Regions from separate parts of the Homo sapiens genome. Here all the other regions are linked to region 2. Evidence: promoter capture Hi-C in human tissues and cell types (Jung and others, 2019). All regions are on one chromosome and are shown on one strand. Each heading gives the region's core, a stretch centred on a gene start or on the middle of the fragment in contact. The rest is flanking DNA. Distances are from core to core; before and after follow the strand shown. Region 1 overlaps KLRF1 (killer cell lectin like receptor F1). Region 2 holds the start of CLEC7A (C-type lectin domain containing 7A). Region 3 has its middle 31 kb from the start of KLRF1. Region 4 overlaps LOC105369657 (a long non-coding RNA gene). Region 5 overlaps CLEC2B (C-type lectin domain family 2 member B).

Region 1 (2,700 bases), core at 176-2,675, 290 kb before region 2:
TTGTGGTAAGGGGTGATATTGTGGGGTTGTTGGAAGGAGCATTTGTTGTATAGAATGATTGGTGATGGCCTGGATACGGTTTTGGATGAATTGAGAAACTAAACGGCAGATACAAGGTCCGAATAAAAGAAGGAGAAAAATAGGTATTAAAGGACTAAGAATTGGGAGGACCCAGTACATCCAATTAGAGAGTGTCCAAGGGCGTTCAGCATAATTACTTGCTTGGTTGGCAAGTTTTTGGACCCTATCCTTGAGTTTTCTTATGTTGTCATACACCAGGCCAGATTGATTTAGGTAAAAACAACACTCTTCATTTAAGAATATACAGAGTCCTCCTTTTTCAGCAGTGAGTAAGTCAAGGCCTCGGTGGTTTTGGAGGATAACTGCAGCTAAAGAGTCAACTTGGGCCTGGAGGACTGATAAAGTTTGTGATATGTCTGTGATGCTAGCAGAGAAGACACTAGAGAGGCTATGGAAGGTCGTGACAGAGGTTGAAATGCCTCCTATTCCAGTACCGAGAGCAATAGTGGAGGCAGAAAGTCCTAAACCAACAAGCAAGGGAATTAGTGGAATAACTCTTTTTTGTCGTGTTGGTGTCATGAGGGGAACAGGGAGCTCTTCGGTCCTATTTGCAAATTGAATTTTGGGAGTAAGGAAAACTAGTGTGCATGTACCTGTCCAATTAGCAGGTAGACACATGGAGGTAGAGGATCCACAGAGGAAGAAGAGACCTTGTGCGAGGCAAAACTGGAGATGCAAAGTAAAAAGATGAGGAGTGCTGAAAGGGGTGTCTTGTACCCAGACTCCTGGGGATCCAGCTAGGGCGGCAGCCACCAGAGGTTGTAATGGGGACTGGTGGGGTAACTGCGTAGAGGGGGAGGTTCGATTTTCATGGTATATGAGAAAATGTTGAGTGTCTATGAGCTACCTTTCACTGTTATTTTCGGGGCTGGGTATAAGTAAACAAGAAGAGGGCCTGGGAGGAGGGTCTGATGAGCAAGGGGAAGGTAGCCGAGGATGGAGTGAAATACAGGGTAAGTGTCTTCCTAAGCAATAATTACTGCTAATATTTTTAAGTTTGCCAGTATTGATAGAGGGCTTTTCTGTAATACGGAGCTGGAAGGCTCCAATTGTTTCGGTGACATGCATAGCTGGACTTTGGAGATGAAGAGTAAAGGAACATGGAGAAGGTGAAGGGTTACTAGGGGAATTCCAGTGGGTCTTTGCCGAGAGATACATAAAGGAGTGGCCACAGGAATAGGAATAGTAGTTTGTGTTGTGAGAGGTCCAAATATGGGGGGAGTAGAGTTGATATAAGGAGAAAGGTTTTTTAAGTAAGTGTGGAGGAGGGCGGCAGCTTGCTGATATGAAATGTCTGGGGAGGTCTTGCTGGACCTGTCTAGAAAGTAAATGAGTTCTTCAGGAGGGTAAAGGTGAGGGCTGTTAAAGGAAGTTCAGAGGTATAGGGAGACAGATGTTGCCCAGTCTACATGTAAGGTGGGGGCAGCTGTGTAGGCGCTGGAAGAAAGGGAAATGCAAAGCCAGCAGTTGTTCAATAAGGAGAGATTAGAAATGGCTAGGAGAGAATAAGTAACGTTGGTAGTGTGGTGGAGATAGCTGGGGAGAGGTAGAGGGTGACATAAGAATGGGAATGATCCCTTCATTCTATTAGGTCTGTTTGTCCTTACCCTACTTTTTGCAACAGGGCTTTACGAAGTTACCCCCACTACTTGGACCGAGCCCCAAAAACTAGTCATCCCTACTATCTTCTGTCTAGTCATACTCCTATTCACCATTCTCAACTACTTATAAATGCCCTACTCTTGTTTACACTGCCGGTTTACACTGTTTTTCCAAGCCATCACAGCTGATATCTCTTGGTGCTATCCCCAAACCGCCAGTCTTAACTCCCTCTTAGAGTGGATAGGTGATCTTTGCTGGCAGGGGACCCTCCAATACTTCCACCCTGATGAAGTTCTATTCTTTACTTTTAAGTTTAACTTTTTGATACTTAACTGATCATTTTGACATTTGTTTTATTGTATGAGATGATATATTATGACTTTCCAGATAAATGTATAATTATTATAAAAGGATTTTTTTCTAATCTACTAGTTCGTATTTCCTCCTTTATCATACGTGAAAATTTTATATATTTTATGTTCTACTTATTGACACTGTCTTCATTTGGCTTATCTGTCTGTTTTACAGGTATATTTCCCAAACTAATAGATATTGTAGCTTTACCTCATATTTTATTGTCTCCCTATCTGTAATGTCTGTCACTGTGTTGGGTATCATTGCAATGACACCTTAGAAAAATTAAGGCGGCTTTGGTAGGTAAACATGGAATCATGTACATGGCAGTAAACATTAATTAAAGTAGGTATAAATACTGTATATTGAGCTACAATATATTTATTTCCTATTCCTTTTCTTAGCTGAGGTACAATTCAAAATTTGAACCTTTAAAAGTAAACAATTTCATGATGTTTAGAACCTTCAAACGTTGTGAACTACCATGTTTATCTAGTTGAAAAACTTTTCCCAAAAATAAATCCCTTACATACCCAACAAGCAAATCACTCTCCATTCTCTCTCCCCTTAGCCTCTGACAACTACAAATCTTCTTTCGGTCTATATGGATTTACCTATTCTGGATTTTCATGGAATAGAATCACACAATATTTGGCCTTGGGC
Region 2 (2,700 bases), core at 107-2,606:
GAAAATATTTGTGCAGTGTGAATAACCAGAAAGCAGAAGAAAGCAAACTCTGGTGTCAAAACCGACAAATGATCTCTCTCTCTCAAAGATAATAGGGAACTAATTTTGTATGAACATTGCCATAACCAGAATGTATTTCTGCTTTCCACTGTGACTAAGCTGTCAGGACATTTCATAGAATTGTCACATAGGAGAATCGTAGAGTAGGCTAAATCACCCATTCTATGAATACAGAGATCCTCCAATGCCCTTCTTTCTATTTCATTTCATTTACACTTTGTTTAAGACTCATGTCCTGCTGGTGGGATGTTTTTATCTACCATATGTTCATATATTTTCCATCACTGGTATACCAATAATTGTTTTTTGTTTAAAAACAATTTAAATTAATCTCTTACCACAAAAAAAAAATGTTGTTCATATATATACTTCTTTAAGTTTCCTGGCCTCCATTCGATAATCTAGCCTTTCTATCAAACAAGCAACAAGTCACTCATACAGAAATCCTTTATCTTTGTGTATTATCCCACTTATTACCAATTCCTCACTGATGAAATGTCTATATCTATAGAAAAGAGAAATTCTATTTTCTGCCATCAGACATAATTAATTTAAACACTAATAATTGGTCACTGAATAATTTTCATGAAAAAAGGTTTAGGGTGCATTCAATTTATCTTCAGTGACATCTGAAGCCTTTAAAAGTATATCCATAAAAATATACACATCACGAGGCTCTCAAATTTTCTCCCCTTATATCTTTTTGTTTTGTTTTTATTTTTATTTTTTTTCAGAGATGGAGTCTTGCTCTGCCACCCAGGCTGGAGTGCATTGGCATGATCTTGGCTCACTGCAACCTCCACCTCCCAGGTTCAAGTGATTCTCCTGCCTCAGCCTCCCAAGTACCTGGAACTACAGGCGTGCACCACCATGCCCGGCTAATTTTTGTATTTTTAGTAGAGACAGAGTTTCACCACGTTAGCCAAGCTGGCCTCGAACTCCTGACCTCAGTCAATCCACCCGCCTCGGCCTCCCAAAGTGCTGGGATTACAGGTGTGAGCCACCATGCCTAGCCTCCCCTTATATCTTTTCAAACGGGAGAGCTAAAGGCACACATTAGAAAAAACATATATATACCTTTCTCTGAAACAACAGCTATCCTGGTATTGCTTTGAGAGTCGAAGTGTAATTGAGTATATCCATCTTCATCCAAATTTTCTAAATCAGGATGATATTCCATTGTTCTTGAGAGCCCCTGAATAGATATAGCATTTGGGAGCTCTTTTCTTTCTGCTCCTGAGATGACTGTCTGTGGACAAAAGAGAATCTCTGAGTCAAATCATGTGGGCTAGGTACTTACCGGAGTTTAACAAATTAAGCTTAAGTAGTTCAACCAGATATTCAAGAGCAGGAAATGAAACTATGCTGTGGTAATTTTCCATTTGTACCTTTAGATCCTGTTTCTGAGACTGCTGACTCAGGAAAACTAAAAGGCAGCATAGCAGATGAGTCTTTGTTTCAGACCAAATGTAAGAAAAATGCATACATTAATGTCTTATGCTGCCTTCATTACTCTCACAACTAAGTCTGACATTAATTAATTTAACCGATGCAAACTATTTCAGTTTTGGTGCTCCAAGTTTACCATAACTTTGTTCATGTATTTATTCATGTATTTTTTAAATTACATAAACAGGTACTGGATGCCCACCTTTTCAATTGGTAGGAGCTTACAATACAAGGAAAAATGATACCTATGAAGAAACTCATTGCTTAATAAAGGAAATATATAGATAGGTAAATGAGGGATGGCATGAGGAGATGCATTGTTGTAACAACAGACAGAGAAAACAAATCTCTTTGGGAATTATCAGATATTAACACAAAATAACATTTATTGAACAATTACTATGAGCTAAGTACCACATGTTGTACATATTTTCTTGTTCAATCTCACTTTTCCAAGTCTATATAGTAGGCATTATTATTTCTATTTTCAAATGAAAAAATGAGACAGAAAATTTAGCCTCTTTCTCAGGTTTAAGAAGCTAATTTTAAAAATTTAGAGCAAGGAATCAAATCAAAGCTGACTCTTGCTGCAAAACTCGTGGTCTTTTCTGTTACGCTACACTGCCTCTTTCATCATTCCATACACTTATATTGCAAGGAACAGCTTATGGAAGGTGTTGGGACTGAAATATTATGTTAGATGTTTGATTTTTTTTCCCTCTCTTCCAGTTTCCATAGTAATGATCAAATCAAAGAAATATAGAAAACACCTAACATTGCTGGAAACTGAAGAGGTGTTCAACTCATTTATCCGACCTTGAAGCCAGTAGAGTGCAGGAGACATCTGAGTGTTGTCAAGGATCAACAAATCTGGATACTAGTTAATGTGGTGAGGACAGGTTTTATTCAGTAATACTATTGCAACAGGAACCAGTGCAGCATTAACTGAACTCAACTTCCCCAAAAGTAAAGCTGATGACATTTTAAAGTGGAGTTTGCTAAGGAAAAGATACTGAGTGGTGTTAAGGAAAGTTAATGTGACTAGACTCTCTGGATTTGTTAATTGGCCCTTATCCAGAGGACAGAGAAACTTTGCCTATCTATATGACAGAAGGACATGGTGATAGTTGAAGTGAAGCACCCAGCTAAGTTGGTCCTTATGCTGCATCTGAAAGAAAGAGCAAGATTTAT
Region 3 (2,700 bases), core at 74-2,573, 330 kb before region 2:
GCCTATCTCCCTTCATTTGAATGTAAGCAGCATAAGGGCATCAGTTTTCTTGTACTAATTGCTATATACCTAGTGCCGAGAACATTGCCAGGTGATAGCAGATGTTCAATAAGTATTTGTTTAATTAATACAGACATCGATGTGTACATATGATAGTGAGCGAGAGTGGGTAGATCGAGGATGATTATATTAAAAGATGTGATCAGAGAGGACTTCTCTGAATAATCCAGATTTCTTCTAGATTTCTCATTTGTAAGTATGGTAGTGCTCCTGAGAGAAAAAGGCACTGCAGACGTGATATGCAGATAGCAAGTCCAAGAAGTAAGAAGCAGAAGCCTTCTTACCTTCGTGTACCATATATTCTCTTTGGTTTTACCCTGCTTTGAAAGGTACCGTGACTCTGTACCTCTCAAAATTTCATTTCCAGTGGTCCAATATATACTCAGCCTGAGCTCGCTGAAAAATCTCCAGCTCTTTTTTTCTGGGCAGGTGATATTGGCAGCATCCTGGCCAGGAGGTCTAGCCTGAGAAATAGAACTTTTTCAAATAGCGTGTCTTGTATTGATTCCTCTTGTTGCATCAGTTAACCACCAAACATTTATCATGATTTAAGTTTACATCCTCAACACTTTTCATATATTTTCTACAGGAGAATGGTGGAAATCAAGGAGGGGGAGTATGTCAACCACTGGAATACTGTGAGGACGAACGCATTGGCTTTTACATGGGTTTTAGGAAGAACCACATGATTGACAGTGTCAGTCCACATCCCTTCTGATTATCCACAAATTAAAAATTGAGCTGAGATCTGAATGGTGATTGAATTTGTCTGGGAAGACACTACCATTGTTGTTTTGATTGTCATTATTTAATATCTGTCATTTAAAGACCCCACCATTTTCTTCCTTTAGGAGGAAAAACCATCTTGGCTTTTCTGCTGTAATTATTCTTCTGGATAACTCTCAGAATAATTTTTGTTCTGATTTTGTCAAGGTATTAAATAATTACTGATATGTTGCTATATTATATATTTAATTTTCGGTTTTCTTCTTACCGGGCTTCTCAGAAAAATTTGACGTAATTGATCTTTACTTTTCCTTTATACACTTCCTTCCTTTGGTTGCTAGAGAAGTAGTATCGATAATACTAGTGATATCAACATCACCATCTTTACCACTTCTAATGCTGCCGCTGACTCTACCACTATCAATCTCTTCATGTGAATTACACATAAGGGTTGTTTTGTGTTTCATATTAACTTTCTTAGGTGTTTTCTTTAAAGTACTCATAATTGTAACTATAATATGCAGTTTCCTATGTAATCATTTGATAGTGGAGGATTTATGGTGAATTATTTTCATGAGACTGCCTGAAATTTTATACTCTCTGGTTAGAGATCTTTTGTTAATTTCTTCCCATAAGTGTGTGTGTGTGTGTGAATTTCATTTTAAAGAAAAAATGAGAAAAAATTTATTTCCAGGACACAGAATAAATTGGAAACAGACATACTTCTGTCTGTTTTTTTTCACTGCTCATTTTATTCAATTCAAAACAATATAAACATTCAGATACTCTTTGAGCTGGTTTCAGGATTTTAGACCTCTGTGAATAATTTTTTTTCTTCTTTTTTACGAGTATTCCAACCACATTTTTGGGGGGAGCAGGCATATTCATTTTGCTGTTGAAATTATGGCAAAAACTGCAATGACTTTTGCACCAATCTAATACATGCTGTCGTTTACAATTAGGTAGCTTTCAAAAGGCAGGGGCCGGCGATCAGCCTTTTATGCATCTAATCTTGGGTAACAAGGACTGGCTGTAATGAACTGTAATGATAACTCCATTATAACTTCAGCTAAAGTATGTGTTGCATATTGTTTTCTTCGTAAATGTTAAACAGGAAGTAAGCATCATTTAGGACAAGGAATTCTCAGAAAAAAAAAATAAACACCACATTGAACGTTTACACAAATTTTAGTGGAACTTACTTTGGCGCAATGCCTAACAGAGTAAGTTACTAACTCTCTTTTTTATTCCTTAAAGAAAGAAAGAAAATAAATGAATTTACAGTAATGTTGGAGTTTTCAGGCCTATTGAAGATTTGGGATAGATTGTGCTAGAACAGATTGACATTGACAGATTTCAAGTTCCTTTTGCAAGTTATTTTACTTTGTATTTTAAAGAGGCAATATGTTTATAAAGCAATCAAATTAGCCTATTTGTGGCATATAAACTTTTTATATAATAAAGCTGGGAAAAAGAAACTCTAATTTCTTTACCAGCTTGAGGGCAATTGACTCTAATACAAGAGGGTTCCTAATCATTAACATATATGTTTATTTGCATTCATAAACTTGAAATGCATATTCAGTTGTCTTATTTGGTATTTAATAGTAGGGGGATATCCTAAATCAAAATTACTTTAATTTATATAATTGTAATCATTTCAATGTTTTTGGAGGGGGAGATAATCCTAAAAACTAAAATTTAAAAGATGAAACTATTCATTATTCCTGCTGTATAACAGATGGTGAATGCAGGCACATAATAATAGGCAGTGTGGCAATACTGAGCACAATGACCAGATCAGGACAGATGCTTAAAAATATTTTAAAAAAATAATTAGAGTAATTGTTTTGTATGACTCGAAGAAAGAATCGGGTTAAATAATAGAGGGCACAGGGCCAGCGAATTAAAGCA
Region 4 (2,700 bases), core at 67-2,566, 400 kb after region 2:
CCACTCTTTTTAAGAGTTGTATAGGCTTACATTTATCATCATTTAATATTAATAGAGCAACTGATATACACCTGTCCCTAAAAGTATGGGGCAAACCACCAAAGACAGGTAATTATTAACAATTTTAGTTTTTGGCATTTTAATACTAAACTTCAAGGTTTATTAAATAAAATAAATATAAGAGGTTCTTGAAAATCTAGCAAACTATATAGGCTTAGATATTTTATCAACAATATCTATAAAATATTATTGTCAGAGTATAGGTATATCATATCTATTTTCTTTTAAGGATTTTAACTTTGTAACTATTTTGAATAAAGGATGAGGTTATTATTAATTGGTTGATTATAAAGACCATTTTCCCAAAGCTTTCCTCTCTCCTTAAAACACCCACACACTTTTGTACCCAAAAATATCAATGTATTTTTAATGTTTCTTCAATTGTTTCCTATACTTCTTTTCTACCTCAACTTGTGTTTATCTTTTAATGTCCACTGAAATTATATTTATGTTCACCAAGTCTAGCCAGTATTAAATTTTTTAAAAACTGAAATGACATTTAATAAAAGAATAAAGTTAATAGAAATCAAGATACAACCCCAAGATGAAATAAGTGAATAAGCACATAAAATAAGAGAGAGAGATAGAGGCTCATGATAACATGAATAGAACACAGCAGAATGATATCAGGATATAGCTGAATTAATGTGAACTTTATAATATAGCAGGCAGCATGCATAAAATTTTGAAATGATTTTTCAAAAACAAAAACAAAAATCCAAGAGGTAATAGGTTTTTATTTTTTATTTTTAATATTGTGTATTTCCTATATACTGTTATTTTCACCTATCTTTAAAATTTTTAAATTGGTAAAAGTTAGGTGACTGTAGCTTAGCTTCTAAGGCAAAGGGAGAATCTTTAGTTCAGTAAACCTGTCACCAAAAACAAAACATTATATAATAAAAATAGGGATTGTTTTTCTCATATTTTGCATTTTTACATATCTTTAATTGTATTTCCTGTTTTAAACTGACAGTTATGAAATAATGGTCAGTTATGGTTTATATGAAATAATGGATGAGTTTGAATATATGAAATAATGGTTGAGTTATGTTTTATACAGAAAATACCAAAATGACTCTCTTATGTTTTCTAGTGACCAATTTTTAATGTCATTTTGATGGAAGCAATAATGCAAAAAAAACTTTAAAAAATTTTTGGTTTTCCAGAAGTATAGATACTGAGTCTATCATTACTTGAGGTGTTTAATAAAAAATAAGATGGTCATAATTTGGAGATGAAGGAGATGTAATGACCAAATACAATGTGGAGGCCTGGATATGATTCTAGAACAGAAGACAGACATTCATGGGAAAAATGGGTGAAAGCTGAATGACGTTTTCAGCACAGTTAACAGTAACATACCAGTATAGGATGCCTAGTTTTGACAAATGTAAGATGTATCATCTTATGGTAATGTAAGACAATAACATTAGGGGAAAGTGAAACTCACTCAAGGATCTATGGGAACCTTCTACACTATCTCTGCAAGTTTTTTAGAAACCTAAAGTTATCCCTGCAGGATTTAAAAAATACCATGAAAAGGGTAAATCTAAGAGTTATTGGCCTTACAGAGGAAGTAGAGAAACAGAAAGGAGTAGAATGTTTATTCAGAGGGATAATAACAGAACTTCCCAAACCTAGAGAAAGATATCAATATCCAAGTCCACAAAAGTTATAGAAGACCAAGCAGATTTAACCTAAGGAAGACTACGTCAAGCCATCTAATAATCAAACTCTCAAATTTCAAGGATAAAGAAAGGATCTTAAAAGCAGCAAGAGAAAAGAAACAACATACAATGGAGCTCCAATACATCTTCCAGCAGACTTTTCAGTGGAAACATTGCAGACCAGGAGACAGTGGCATGGCATATTTGAAGTGTTGAAGGGGAAAAAAAATAGGCATAAACAGTATAGCTGGTGAAAATATTCTTCAAACATGAAGGAGGAATAAAGACTTTCCAAGACAAAGAAAAGCTGAGTGATTTCATCAATACCAGACATGTCCTATAAGAAATGCTAAAGGGAGTACTTCAATCAGAAAGAAAAGGATGTTAATAAGCAATAAAGCATCTTCTGAAGGTACAAAACTCACTGGTAATAGTAAGTACACAGAACAACACACATATTATAACACTGTTACTGTGGTTTGTAAATTACTCATCTTAAGTAGAAAGAATAAAAGATGAACCAATCAAAATAATAATTACAACAACTTTTCAAGATGTAGTACAATAACACATAAAGAGAAACAACAAAGGTTAAAAAGCATGGAAATGAAGTTAAAACAGAGTTTTTATGAGTTTCCTTTTTCTTGTTAATTCATTTGTATTTGCAAGCAGTATTAAGTTGTAATCAGGTTAAAATAATGTGTTATAAGATAGTATTTGCAATTTTCATGGTAACCTCAACTCAAAAACATGCAACAGATACACACACACACACACACACAAAGCAGGCCAGGTGTTGTGGCTCACACCTGTAATCCCAGCACTTTGGGAGGTCAAGGTGGGCAGATCACCTGAGGTCAGGAGTTTGAGACCAGCCTGGCCAACATGACAAACCCCATCTCTACTGAAAATACAAAAATTAGCCAAGCATGGTGGTGCATACCTGAAATTCCAGCTACTTGGGAGGCTG
Region 5 (2,700 bases), core at 69-2,568, 270 kb before region 2:
AATAAGAGAATTAGACTTCCATATCCATGAGGACTCTCCCTGCAATCTTTCCGGTACCCAAGGGCATGGAAACATCATTTCTATACTGGAAAAAGTGAGATCAAGATGGATAACCAGCTTCCCCACCAGCTTGAGTTTCCTGGCAGGAAACTTGCCCCTGCCTTAACACTTGGGAAGCATCGGGGTGCCTGAACGAGGACAGGCAGAGACAAAGTGGGGAGGCAGGACTACCATCCCCAATACCAGAAACTGTGCTCTGTTACTTGGCCAAAGGAGATGTCAACTTAGAGTGGCTGTCGAGCAGCATCATGGTATAGGAGGTTTGTTGCACAGGTCCCCTGGGCTGGAACACCTCGTCAGTCTTCCCACACTACTGGGATATCCCCTTTGGAAGCACCCTCATTTGGTATGAGTGGCACTCTAATTGTTTACTAGAACCAAGGCAAACCTGGGTTAAGGCACCATGTAGTCATAACAAGGAGGCCGAAACCTAGCTGCCGCCCCCCACCCCCAAAAAAATCGACAGGTAAATTACAAGGAATATTTAAACAAACATATTCAATGTAAACCAAAACAAGCCATATAAAATCCTTCAACACAAAGACATAGATGCATATCCATAAGAAACAACAGCAAACAGGGAACTGCGATACCCCTAAATGGACAAAGTCGGAATCAGAGACAGATCTTAATGAAATGGCAATATGTGAGCACTTGTACCAAGAATTCAAAATAGTAGTTTTAAGAAAACTCACTGGTCTCTAAAATAACACAAAAAACAATTCAGAAATATATCAGAGGAATTTAACAAAGGGATTGAAATAATTTTTAAAAATCAAAAAGTGATATTGGAACTGAAAAATACATTTGCTGAACCGAAAATTTTATTAGCGGCTCTCAAAAGAGAATGGATCAAGAAGAAGAAATAATCGGTGAGCATGAGGATGGGCTTTTGAAAATACACAAGGAAAGGAGAAAAAAAGAATAAAAAGGAAGGAAGAATGCCAACATCTTGTAGAAAATTACTGCAAAAGACCATATCTAAGAATTATTGGTGTTTAAGAGAGAGTCAAACCAGAGCAAGAGGTAGAAAGCTTATTCAAAGAAATAATAACAGAAAGTATTACAAAGCTTGAGAAAGAGATAAAGATTCAGGCAGATAAAGGTCAGAGAACACCAAACAGATTCCGACCCCAACAAGACTACCCCTAGGCATAGAATAATCAAACTCTCAAAGGTCAAGGAAAAAGAGAGGATCCTAAAATCAGCAAGAGAAGAGAAGCAAATAATATTTAAAGGAGCTCCAATTTATCTGATGATAGACGTCTCAGTGGAAACCATACAGACCAAGAGAAAAGTGATGACATTTTTTAAGTGCTGAAAAAAAAAAAAAACCCTGCCATCTAAGAATACCATATCCTGCAAAGCTGACCTTCAAATATGAAGAAGAGACAATGTTTCCCAGACAAACAAAAACTGAGAGAATTCACCACCACCAGACATATCTTATAAGAAATGCTAAAGGGAGTTCTTCAACCAAAAAGAAAAAAACACACGAACAGAAAACAGCTGAATATCTAAAATACACTGATAAAATTAAGTGTATGCACAAACCCAGAATACTCTAATACTGTAATTGTGGTGCACAATCTTCTCATATCCCTAGTAATGAAGACTGGAAGATAAATCTATCAAGAACAATGATAACTGCAGAAACCAGTTAAGAGGTAAGCAATAAAAATATGTGAATTGGGAAAACTAAATTAAAAATGTGTGAGGGTGGAGTAAAAGTGTTTTTTTCCTTTGTTGCTATTCTTTGTGATATAAGTTGTTATCTCTTTAAAATAACTTGTTATATCTATAAGATTTTTTATAAGCCTCATAGTAATCACAATGCAAAACCTATAGTAGAGTCATTAAAAATAAAAAGCAACTAATTAATATATACCACCAGAGAAAATTATATAACCCCAAAGAATGACAGTAAGAAAAGAAAAAAGAGAGAAATTTAAAAACAACCATAAAACAAGCAACAAAACAGCCCCAGAAAATCCTTACTTAACAATAACATGGAATTTAAATGAACTCAACTCTCCAATTAAAAGACATAAAGTGCAGGCCGGGTGCAGTGGCTCACGCCTGTAATCCCAGAATTTTGGGAGGCCAAGGCAGGCAGATCATTTGAGGTCAGGAGCTCAAGACTAGCCTGTCCAACATAACGAAACCACATTTCTACTAAAAATACAAAACTTAGCTTGGTGTGGTGGTGTATGCCTGTGATCCTGGCTACTCAGGAGGCTGAGGCAGGAGAGTCGCTTGAATCCAGGAGTTGGAGGCTGCAGTGATCTGAGATCATGCCACTCCACTCCAGCCTGGGCAATAAAGCAAGACTCTCTCAAAAAAAAAAAAAAAAAAAAAGCATAAAGTTAAAGTGGCTGACTTGGTAAAGAGAAAACCCTAACTGTATGCAGCCTACAGGAAATCTGCTTCACCTATAAAGACACACAGAGAATGAAAGTGAAGGGGATGAACAAAGATATTCCATGCAAATAGAAACCAAAAAAGCCGGAGCAGCTATACTTATATCAGATAAAATAGATTACAAAACTTTAAAAGACTACTTTAAAAAGAGACAAAGGTTACTATATAATGCTAAAGAGGTCAATTCAGCAAGAGGATATGACAGTTCTAAAAATCTAT

The links. The method cuts DNA at HindIII sites, captures the fragments that hold promoters and counts their contacts. A contact is called where the count stands out against the background at its distance.
Region 1: a contact is called between a fragment that was not itself captured here and the fragment with the promoter of CLEC7A in region 2, in 2 of the 25 tissues and cell types used here (heart left ventricle and liver).
Region 3: a contact is called between a fragment that was not itself captured here and the fragment with the promoter of CLEC7A in region 2, in 3 of the 25 tissues and cell types used here (hippocampus, mesendoderm cells and thymus).
Region 4: a fragment that was not itself captured here is called in contact with the fragment with the promoter of CLEC7A in region 2 in 1 of the 25 tissues and cell types used here (neural progenitor cells).
Region 5: a contact is called between a fragment that was not itself captured here and the fragment with the promoter of CLEC7A in region 2, in 2 of the 25 tissues and cell types used here (liver and lymphoblastoid cells).

The regions. Positions count from the first base shown.
Region 1 is chr12:9,834,528-9,837,227 of GRCh38, forward strand. All of the region lies in intron 3 of KLRF1 (killer cell lectin like receptor F1), which reads left to right. Among named protein-coding and RNA genes, the nearest start is that of KLRF1, 8.4 kb to the left of the region's middle. The HindIII fragment of the contact is 4,239 bases long and covers 1-2,700 here.
Region 2 is chr12:10,128,843-10,131,542 of GRCh38, forward strand. CLEC7A (C-type lectin domain containing 7A) reads right to left here and starts at 1,357. Exons shown (of 6, transcript NM_197947.3): 1 at 1,138-1,357. The coding sequence starts at 1,240. It overlaps LOC105369655 (a long non-coding RNA gene), which reads left to right. Exons shown (of 4, transcript XR_007063208.1): 2 at 2,239-2,398. The HindIII fragment of the contact is 18,210 bases long and covers 1-2,700 here.
Region 3 is chr12:9,795,356-9,798,055 of GRCh38, forward strand. No RefSeq gene overlaps it. Among named protein-coding and RNA genes, the nearest start is that of KLRF1, 31 kb to the right of the region's middle. RefSeq lists an enhancer at 2,699-2,700. The HindIII fragment of the contact is 5,298 bases long and covers 1-2,700 here.
Region 4 is chr12:10,530,048-10,532,747 of GRCh38, forward strand. All of the region lies in intron 1 of LOC105369657 (a long non-coding RNA gene), which reads right to left. Among named protein-coding and RNA genes, the nearest start is that of LINC02446, 22 kb to the right of the region's middle. The HindIII fragment of the contact is 6,729 bases long and covers 1-2,700 here.
Region 5 is chr12:9,862,784-9,865,483 of GRCh38, forward strand. All of the region lies in intron 1 of CLEC2B (C-type lectin domain family 2 member B), which reads right to left. Among named protein-coding and RNA genes, the nearest start is that of CLEC2B, 5.2 kb to the right of the region's middle. The HindIII fragment of the contact is 5,182 bases long and covers 1-2,700 here.